Regions from separate parts of the Homo sapiens genome. Here region 2 is linked to region 1. The links are contacts of gene promoters, found by promoter capture Hi-C in human tissues and cell types (Jung and others, 2019). All regions are on one chromosome and are shown on one strand. The core of a region is centred on a gene start or on the middle of the fragment in contact, and the rest is flanking DNA. Distances in the headings are between cores, read along the strand shown. Region 1 has its middle 28 kb from the start of ZNF699. Region 2 holds the start of OR7G3 (olfactory receptor family 7 subfamily G member 3).

Region 1 (4,970 bases), core at 852-3,351:
CAGGGAGTATGACAAGCTGAGGAACCAGGACACAAGAACCAGCAGGCCACAGAGGCAGGGGTTCCTGGTGACACAGTAGTACAGGGGGTGACAGATGGCCACATACCGGTCATAGGCCATCACGGTGAGGAGAAATGTGTCCATGCCTCCAAAAACCATGAAAAACATACATCTGGGCGATGCAGTCTGCATAGCTGATGGCATTGCTCTGCACCTGGATGTTCACCAGCATCTTGGGGACTGCGGTGGAGGTGAAACCGATGTCAGCCAGGGACAGATTGGAGAGGAAGAAGTACCTGGGGGTGTGGAGGTGGGAGTCAGAGCTGATGGCCAGGATGATGAGCAGGTTCCCCAGAACGGTGACCAGGTACATGGACAGAAACAGTGCAAAGAGCAACTGTTGATCCTCTAGGTCTTGGGAAAATCCCAGGAGTAAAAATTCTGAAACTCTTGTTTGATTTCCCAAGTCCATGTTGCTGACACATCAGCTAGACAGTTAAGGAAGGGAAGAAACATGAAATAGATGCTGAACAGGCTCCAAAATCTCTCTGCTTTTTTATTTCTTGAGGTGAATAATTGGATACAAAAGCTTTAAAATAGCAAAACTTAGGAATCCTACATTCTGTCATTTGTTATAGGCAACATTTCATAACGTTGACTAACCCCTGTTCATTGGCCTCTCAGAGGCTTACCCATTCCCTTTTTCTCTGCTTTAGAATCATCAAATCTACCAAGAGCAACTTTAGACCTTAGAGATAAAATGGTCTGCACCTGCTCTAACACATATAAGGTTCAGTGAACTTAAGAAAAGGTCAGGGTCATCTTCCTTGTCTAAGACACAACTGAGACTGAAGAAGGTCAGACAACTATGTCTGAGCAGTGAGAAAATATGAAAGCAGAGATAATAGCTAGACAAAATATTGCAAGATGAGTGGATTTAGGTTTTCAAGGAAGGAAAGAGGAAGGGAGGGAGGGAAGGAGGAAGGAAGGGAAGGAAGGAAAGAAGGAAGGAAGGAAAGGAAGAAAGGAAGGAAGGAAGGAAGGAAGGAAGGAAGGAAGGAAGGAAGGAAGGAAGGGTTACTTGTTGCCTTAAGTCCCACTTGGAATTATGGTGGCAGCCAAATTCTGATTCAAATAGGTCATGACATTACCAGTAATAACATTCATCTTAAGAAGCTGACCGCACATTAAAAACTTTCTACCTTAGAACCAGGGTTTCAAAATTAGAGACCAGAAAGATACAGTCATTTGACACTTATATGATTCTCTTTTTCCATCCACATAATAAATATGTCCTAATCTGTTTCTAGTGTCTAGTGTTGGTGCACAATTTTTTTTGTTGTTGTTGGGTTTTTGTTTGTTTTCTTTTCTTTTGAGACAGAGTCTTGAGCTGTCACCCAGGCTGGAGAGTTCAGTGGCGCAATCTCGGCTCACTATAACCTCTGCCTCCCGGGTTCAAACAATTCTCCTGCCTCAGCCTCCTGAGTAGCTGGGATTACAGGTGTGCACCACCATGCCCAGCTAGTTTTTGTAAAAATACAAAACTAACTAGCTAGTTTTTTACAAAAACTAGTTAGTTTTACCATGTTGGCCAGGCTGGTCTTCAACTCCCAACCTCAGGTGATCTGCCCACCTCGGCCTCCCAAAGTGCTGGGATTACAGGCATGAGCCACAGCACGTGGCCTGGTGCATAATTTTTGTTGAGCCGTGCTGGGAAGTACAGAAGAATTGAACTAGGTTGACAACTAGGTTGTCAGTCACTGAAAAAGTGCTAACAGCCATTCTGCAAGAGGGTCTTCTTTGGGCCAGGCTAAGTGTTAGCTGTTGGGGATACAAAGATTAATGATGTGGTCTTTTTTTTCTTATGGTTCCACCTTCCAGAAGATGGATTCAGAAACAGATCATTGTAACACAGTGAATTAAGTGCTAAAATAAAACGATGTACAGAGTGGAGTACAGAGAGGAACCCTCAATCCAGCCTGGAGTAATGCATTCAGGGAAGGAGTCCTGGAGGAAGGAATACCTGGGCAAGGAGTTACCCAGGTGAATGGTTGCACAGGGGCATTTCTGGCAGAGATATAAGCAAGGGAATAAGCCTAGAAGCAAGAAGCAGCATGGGACAGAGTTCTCTTAGCCCTTTGCTGCTGCTTAAGTACAAAGTGTTAGATAGAAACGATGAGGATGATGTTGGAGAGGTGGGCAGGGATGACATGTCTAAGAACTTTGAAAAGTATAATCCATAAAGGATGGGGCTGTGAAGGAACGGCAATCAAAGGAGTAACATGATAGGAATTGCAATTCTCCCTGGGGCCTGGAGGGAAAGATGGATTTAGGGCAGGCAAAACTAAGGATAAGGGAACAGGGTTGGGGATTCTTCATATCATTGGAATTGAGGGGAACAACTCAGGAATATTTTTGCAGAAGAAATACAAAGGCCAGGAGAGGTAAAGGAATGAGGTCAATGTCTTGCTAACAATCTCAGCTTAAGGATGAGACTTGACCTTCAAGTGAAATGAAGGGAATTATGGAAAAGAATCCTGCAGGTTTCAATGCTTCCCTCGTGTTCCCCAGAGGATACGATGTCAAGAGGAGACTGGATGTTGGGCTTGCCTGAGCCCTTCACTTTCCCTCACTCACCCATCGTACCCTAGTTGTTATACACCATGGCCTTCCATTCCAGGGAACACAGACGCTTGTCTCTTGAAGGTGTCTACTTAGAATCATGGATAAGGGTAAAGAAGGATGGGGAAGGATAAGTCTTTCTGGAGAGGCAGGAGATGTTTCCAAGCAAGTGAGGGTCACAGAGAAGAATTCAGAGAGGCTTGATCTAGGCTGAGGGCCTCTGAAGTTCTTGGGTCAGGTAGTAGGTGAAAAGAACTAGAAGTGACCAGGACTTCACTGCAAGGCACCTACAGCTCCTACTGAAACCTGCAGGATTCTTTTCCATAATTCCCTTCATTTCACTTGAAGTCAAGTCTCGTCCTTAAGCTGAGATTGTTAGCAAGACATTGACCTCATTCCTTTACCTCTCCTGGCCTTTGTTTTTCTTCTGCAAAAATATTCCTGAGTTGTTCCCCTCAATTCCAATGATATGAGGAATCCCCAACCCTGTTTCCTTGTCCTTAGTTTTGCCTGCCCTAAATCCATCTTTCCCTCCAGGCCCCAGGGAGAATTGCAATTCCTATCATGTACCTTGGAGCATCCATTTGTACAATGCAGATTGGTCACTCCAAGACCACACAGAGTGATCCAGGGCAGCGCTAAGATATCAAACAGTGCCCCAGGCCAACAAAGAGTAGCCCTTCCTATAACCTCCATCAGTCATCTACCCAAGTAATATACAGGCAAAGTTAAAGCTCGCTATACAATGGCTATTTAAGCAAGTAGTCTAGCCATTCTCCCTTCCAAGAAATCAGCCTCAACAGCCCCTTCTCCGTGGACATCACAGGGTTTCTCCTGCCCTATGATTAACAAGTCAATGCCTTTCCCCTCAATCATCTCTTTTCCCTATTTCCCTCAACACTTACTGAGCTATGAAGGTTTGACAATGTGGACCCACCACAGGAGCCACCTTGTGTCCAGAATTGGTGGGTTCTTGGTCTCACTGACTTCAAGAATGAAGCCGCAGACCCTCGCGGTGAGTGTTACAGCTCTTAAGTGGCGCGTCTGGAGTTTGTTCCTTCTGATGTTCGGATGTGTTCGGAGTTTCTTCCTTCTGGTGGGTCCATGGTCTCGCTGGCTCAGGAGTGAAGCTGCAGACCTTCACTGTGAGTGTTACAGCTCTTAAAGCAGCGCGTTTGGAGTTGTTCGTTCCTCCCAGTAGGCTCGTGGTCTCGCTGGCTTCAGGAGTGAAGCTGCAGACCTTCGCGGTGAGTGTTACAGCTCATAAAAGCAGCGTGGACCCAAAGAGTAAGCAGTAGTAAGATTTATTGCAAAGAGCAAAAGAACAAAGCTTCCATAGCTTGGAAGGGGATCCGAGCGAGGTGCCACTGCTGGCTGGGGCAACCTGCTTTTATTCTGGTATCTGGCCCCACCCACATCCTGCTGATTGGTAGAGCCAGTGGTCTGTTTTGACAGGGTGCTGATTGGTGCCTTTACAACCCCTAAGCTAGACACAAAGGTTGTCCACGTCCCCACTAAATTAACTAGATACAGAGTGTCCACACAAAGGTTCTCCAAGGCCCCACCAGAGTAGCCAGATACAGAGTGTCAATTGGTGCATTCACAAACCCTGAGCTAGACATAGGGTGCTGATTGGTGTGTTTACAAACCTTGAGCTAGATACAGAGTGCCGATTGGTGTATTTACAATCCCTGAGCTAGACATGAAGGTTCTCCAAGGCCCCACCAGAGTAGCTAGATACAGAGTGTCCATTGGTGCATTCACAGACCCTGAGCTAGACACAGGGTGCTGATTGGTGTATTTACAATCCCTGAGCTAGACATAGGGGTTCTCCATATCTCCACCAGACTCAGGAGCCCAGCTGGCTTCACCCAGTGGATCCCGCACTGGGGCTGCAGGTGGAGCTGCCTGCCAGTCCCGGTGCCGTGCGCCCGCACTCCTCAGCCCTTGGGTGGTCGATGGGACTGGGAGCCGCGGAGCAGAGGGTGGCGCTCGTCGGGGAGGCGCGGGCCGCACAGGAGCCCATGGAGGGGGTGGGAGGCTCAGGCATGGCGGGCTGCAGGTCCCAAGCCCTGCCCCGTGGGAAGGCAGCTAAGGCCCGGTGAGAAATCGAGCGCAGCGCCGGCGGGCTGGCACTGCTGGGGGACCCAGTACACCCTCCACAGCCGCTGGCCCGGTTGCTAAGCCCCTCATTGCCCGGGCCGGGCAGGGCAGGCCGGCTGCTCGGAGTGCGGGGCCCGCCAAGGCCACGCCCACCCGGAACTCCAGCCGGGCCCGCAAGCGCCGCGCGCAGCCCCGGTTGCCGCTCGCGCCTTTCCCTCCACACCTCCCTGCAAGCTGAGGGAGCC
Region 2 (4,970 bases), core at 1,757-4,256, 150 kb before region 1:
CATGAGATGGAGTCTTGCTCTGTCGCCCAGGCTGGAATGCAGTGGTGCGATCTTGGCTCACTGCAACCTCCGCCTCCCAGGTTCAAGCGATTCTCATGCCTCAGCCTCCTGAGTAGCTGGGATTACAGATATGCGCCACAACGTCTGGCTAATTTTTGTATTTTTCATAGAGATGGGGTTTCACCATGTTGGCCAGGCTGGTCTCGAACTCCTGACCTTGTGATCCGCCCACTTCAGCCTATCAAAGTGCAGACTTTTTTGATAGCCGCTACACCCAGCCTTTTTTTTTTTTAATAAGTGACTCCATTTTGATTCTGACAATTTTAACAATATATATACCAAGTACAGTCAGCCTTCCATATCTGCCAGTACCACATTCATGGACTCAACCAACTGTGGATCAAAAATATTAAAAATATTAAAGAAAATTTTAAAAATATTAAATAAGAATATTACAAAAATACAATATTAAGTAATACAACTATTTACATAGGATTAACATTATGCTAGGTAATATAAGTAATCTAGAAATGATTTAAAGTATAGGCGACCTGGGCACAGTGGCTCACACTGCTTAATCCCAGCACTTTGGAAGGCTGAGGCAGAAGGATTGTTTGAGGCCAGGAGTTTGAGGCTGCAGTGAGTTATAATCACACCACTGTAGTTCAACCTCGGCAACAGAGCAAGGCTCTCTCTAAAAAAGAAATTAATCATTTAATATTAAAATTAAAAATTAATTACTTGATTTTTAAATTGTAAATAAATTACTTAATTTTTAAATTAAAAATAAATTAGCTAGCTGGGCATGGTGGCTCATGCCTGTAATCCCAGCACTTTGGGAGGCTGAGGCGGGCAGATTACCTGAGGTCAGGAGTTCAAGGCCCGCCTGGCCAACATGGTGAAACTCTGTCTCTACTAAAAATACAAAAATGAGCCAGGCACAGTAGCAGGCGCCTGTAATCCCAGCTATTCAGGAGGCTGAGGCAGGAGAATCGCTTGAGCCCCAGAGGTGGAGGTTGCAGTAAGCCGAAATTGAGCCACTGCACTCTAGACTGGGCGACAGAGCAAGACTCTGTCTCAATAAATAAATAAATAAATAAATAAATAAATAAGTTTTTAAATTTTTAATTAAATTTAATTTTTTTTAAAAAAAGACTTAGTATTGGATAGACCAGTAGGGTGACTATAGTTCAAAATAATCCATTGTATATTTCAAAATACCTAGAAGAGAACAATTGGAATGGTTGGAGCATAAAGATAAGACAAATATTTAAGGTGATGGATATCTAAAGTAACAAATCCTTGCAGATTATACAAATGTATTACACTATCACATGCATCCTGAAACAATGTACATCTCTTATGCATTGATACAAAAATTTAAAAAAAGCCAGGTGTGGTGGCATGCACCTGCAGTCTCAGCTACTCGTCAGGCTGAGTCCAGAGGATCGCTTTAGCCCAGGAATTCGAGGCAGCAGTGAGCTGTGATCACACCACTGCACTCCAGCCTGGGCAACAAAGTGAGAGACTGTCTCAAAAATCAATTAGTCAGTCAATCAATCCAAAAAGAACTCAAGTCCACGTGGTCCGATTCCAAAACTATCACCCTGAACCATCTGATCTCTGGTCTCATGTATTCAAAGACATTGGTCAGGTGGGGCACAGTGGCTCATGCCTGTAATCCCAGCACTTTGGGAGGCTGAGACGGGCAGATCACCTGAGGTCAGGAGTTCGAGACCATCCTGGCCAATGTGGTGAAACCCCGTCTCTATTAAAAATAGAAAAATTAGCTGGGCTTGGTGGCACGTGCCTGTAATCCCAGCTACTCCGGAGGCTGAAGCAGGAGAATCGCTTGAACCCAGGAGGCGGAGGTTGCAGTGAGCCAAGATTGCGTCACTACACTCCAGTCTGGTCAACAGAGCGAGACTCCATCTCAAAAAACAAACAAACAAACAAAAACAAAAACAAAAACAGAAAACCCCAAAGACATTAGTCAGGCTTTCAAGACTTCTCATTACTTCTTTCTCCCTGACATATCCCAGCAGTGTAAGCCCAAGAAGCTGAGACATCAATGGAAAGATGGTATCCTAGATATTAGTTTCCTCAAAGCCTTCAACATGTCCTTGTTTCTCAGGCTGTAAATGAGTGGGTTCAGCATGGGGGTGACCACGGTATACATCACTGATGCTATTGCACCCTTCCTGGAGGAGTGGGTAGCCCCAGAACTAAGGTACACCCCAAACCCTGTTCCATAAAACAAGGAAACAACGATTAAATGTGACCCGCAGATGGAAAAAGCTTTATACTTTCCACCAGCTGATGGAATTTTCATGACAGAGGAGACAATTCGTGTGTAAGAGAAAATGATCCCAGAGAGAGGAACAACACCTAACAGGCTGGTCACCAAATACACCAGGATGTTATTGATGAGGACATCAGAACAGGCGAGCTTGAGAATATGAGCTAGTTCACAGAAAAAGTGGGGAATTTCCAGGTCTATGCAGAAGGTCAGCTGTAGCACCATCAACGTGTGCAGCAGAGCATCCAGGACACTAACGATGAAGGACAGCAGAAGCAGCAGCCCACAGAGTTTGGGGTTCATGATGACATTGTACCTCAGTGGGTGACAGATGGCCACAAATCGATCATAGGCCATCATGACCAGAATTCCATTTTCCAATCCAACAAAAACCAGGACAAAGCAGATTTGGGTGAGGCAGCCTGTGTAATTGATGGATTGAGCCTGTGCCTGGATGTTCACCAGCATCTTGGGCATCGTGGTGGAGGTGAAACAGATGTCGACCAAGGACAGGATAGAGAGGAGGAAGTACATGGGGGTGTGGAGGTGGGAGTCAGAGTTGACGGCCAGGATGATGAGCAGGTTCCCCAGCATTGTGGCCAGGTACATGGACAGGAACAGCATGAAGAGGATGGGCTGCAGCTCCGGATCCCCTGACAATCCCAAGAGAAAGAATTCTGGAGTGTCTGAGAAGTTTCCTGCTTTCATGTTGTTGATGAGTCTTGATCTTGTCAATATTATCAAAACCAAACCAGTTATAAGTTATAGACCTTTTTTCCTTCCTTCCTTCCTTCTTTCTTTCTTTCTTCCTTCCTTCCTTCCTTTCTTTTTCTTTCTTTCTTTCTTTCTTTCTTTCTCTCTCTCCCTCTCTCTCTTTCTCTTTCTCTCTCTTTCTTTCTTTCTCTCTCTCCCTCCGTCTTTCTTTCTTTCTCTTTCTTTCTTTCTTCTTACTTTCTTTTTCTTTCCCTCCCTCCCTCTCTCCCTCCTCTTTCTTTTTCTCTTTCTCTTTCTTTCTTTTCTCTTTCCTTCTTTCTTTCTTTCTCCTTTTTCTTTCTTTCTTCCTTTCCTTTCTTTCTCTTTCTTTCTCTCTCTCCCTCCCTCCTTCCCTCCCTCTCTCCCTCCTCTTTTTCTCCTTCCTTCCTTCCCTCCTTCCCCCCTCTCTTTCTTTCTCTCTCTTTTCCTTCCTTCCTTCCTTTCTCTCTCTCTCTCTCTTTCTTTCCTTCCTTCCTTCCTTCCTCCCTTCCTTCCCTCCTTCTTTCTTTCCTTCTTTCTTCTTTGCAGGGTCTCTCTCTCTCTGTCATCCATGCTGGAGTGCAGTGGCATGATCATAGCTCACTGTAGCCTCATCCCCCTGGGCTCAAGCAATCCTCCTCTCTCAGCCTCCCAAATAGCTGGGATGACAGGCATGAACCCCCATGCCCAGCCTGTTCTTTACTTCCTTCCTAGGTACCCTATCAGTGTCTTTCTCACCCACCAATTTCCCTTTCTCATTACAGTTTGTGAAAATAAAAATTAAGCCCTCTTTATCTAGCAGCATAAGCCCCTCCCACTATTTTTATTTGCCTTCATCTGTCTTTCATTTGTATCACAGATAATGTTAATAAAGAAAATTTTAACAGTAAGCCATGCATCAGACCCTCTTTCCATTATTTTTTTCTTTTCTTTTTTTTTTTGAGATGGAGTCTCGCTCTGCTACCCAGGCTGGAGTGCAGTGGTGGGATCTCAGCTCACTGCAACCTCTTCCTCCAGGGTTTGAGTGATCCTCCTGCCTCAGCCTCCCAAGTAGCTGGAACTACAGGTGTGTGCCAACACACCTGGCTGATTTTTATACTTTTAACAGAGATAGGGTTTCACCATGTTGGCCAGGCTGGTCTTGAACTCCTGACTTGAAGTGATCCACCCGCCTCAGCCTCCTAAAGTGCTGGGATTACAGGCTTGAGCCACTGCACCCACTCTTCCTATTATTACTGGTGCAGCCCCTGGTTCAGGCAACCCCTGAGCCTTGGCACTGATTCCTGGAGGAGTCCTGTGTGAGTCAGCGCCAAACCTTTCCTGTTCCTTCTGGCTTATCCAGATTCTTGAGAAATTGATTCTGGGGCCCCCAAAGCAGGAAGTAAAGAATTGATGTATGCCGGCAATGTCAAAACATCAGCCTGCTGTTCTCATAAACCCATAAGTTAAGGAAATTCTGTAATGATGACTCAGGAGTTGGGGCAAACATATTATAGAATCACAGCATGTGAACAGTTGAATGGTGCAGTGAGCCCATCTCAGCCCTTTGCTTCACAAATTGAGTTCCTGGCCAGACACAGCGGCTCACACCTATAATCCCAGCACTTTGGGAGGCTGAGGCAGAAGGGTCGCTTGAGGCCAGGAGTTTGAGACCAGCCTGAACAAAGTAGCAAGACCCATCTATAGTAAACATTTTTTAAAAATTAAATTAAATTAAAAATTAGCCAGGCACGGTGGTACGTGTCTGTAGTCCCAGCAACTTGGGAGGCTGAGTTGGGAGGATCACTTGAACCCAGGAGTTGGAAGCTGCAGTGAGCTTTCATAGGGTCACTGCATGCCAGCCTGGGCAACAGAGCAAGACTCTGCCTCTTAAAACAAATACACAAACAAGCTGGGCGCGGCGGCTCAAGCCTGTAATCCCAGAACTTTGGAAGGCTGA

Evidence for each region. The method cuts DNA at HindIII sites, captures the fragments that hold promoters and counts their contacts. A contact is called where the count stands out against the background at its distance.
Region 2: a contact is called between the fragment with the promoter of OR7G3 here and a fragment that was not itself captured in region 1, in 2 of the 25 tissues and cell types used here (H1 embryonic stem cells and dorsolateral prefrontal cortex).

The regions. Positions count from the first base shown.
Region 1 is chr19:9,278,898-9,283,867 of GRCh38, forward strand. It overlaps the pseudogene OR7H1P. Among named protein-coding and RNA genes, the nearest start is that of ZNF699, 28 kb to the right of the region's middle. The HindIII fragment of the contact is 5,089 bases long and covers 1-4,646 here.
Region 2 is chr19:9,123,944-9,128,913 of GRCh38, forward strand. It overlaps OR7G3 (olfactory receptor family 7 subfamily G member 3), which reads right to left and starts at 3,007. Exons shown (of 1, transcript NM_001001958.1): 1 at 2,069-3,007. The coding sequence starts at 3,007. The coding sequence ends at 2,069. The HindIII fragment of the contact is 7,276 bases long and covers 357-4,970 here.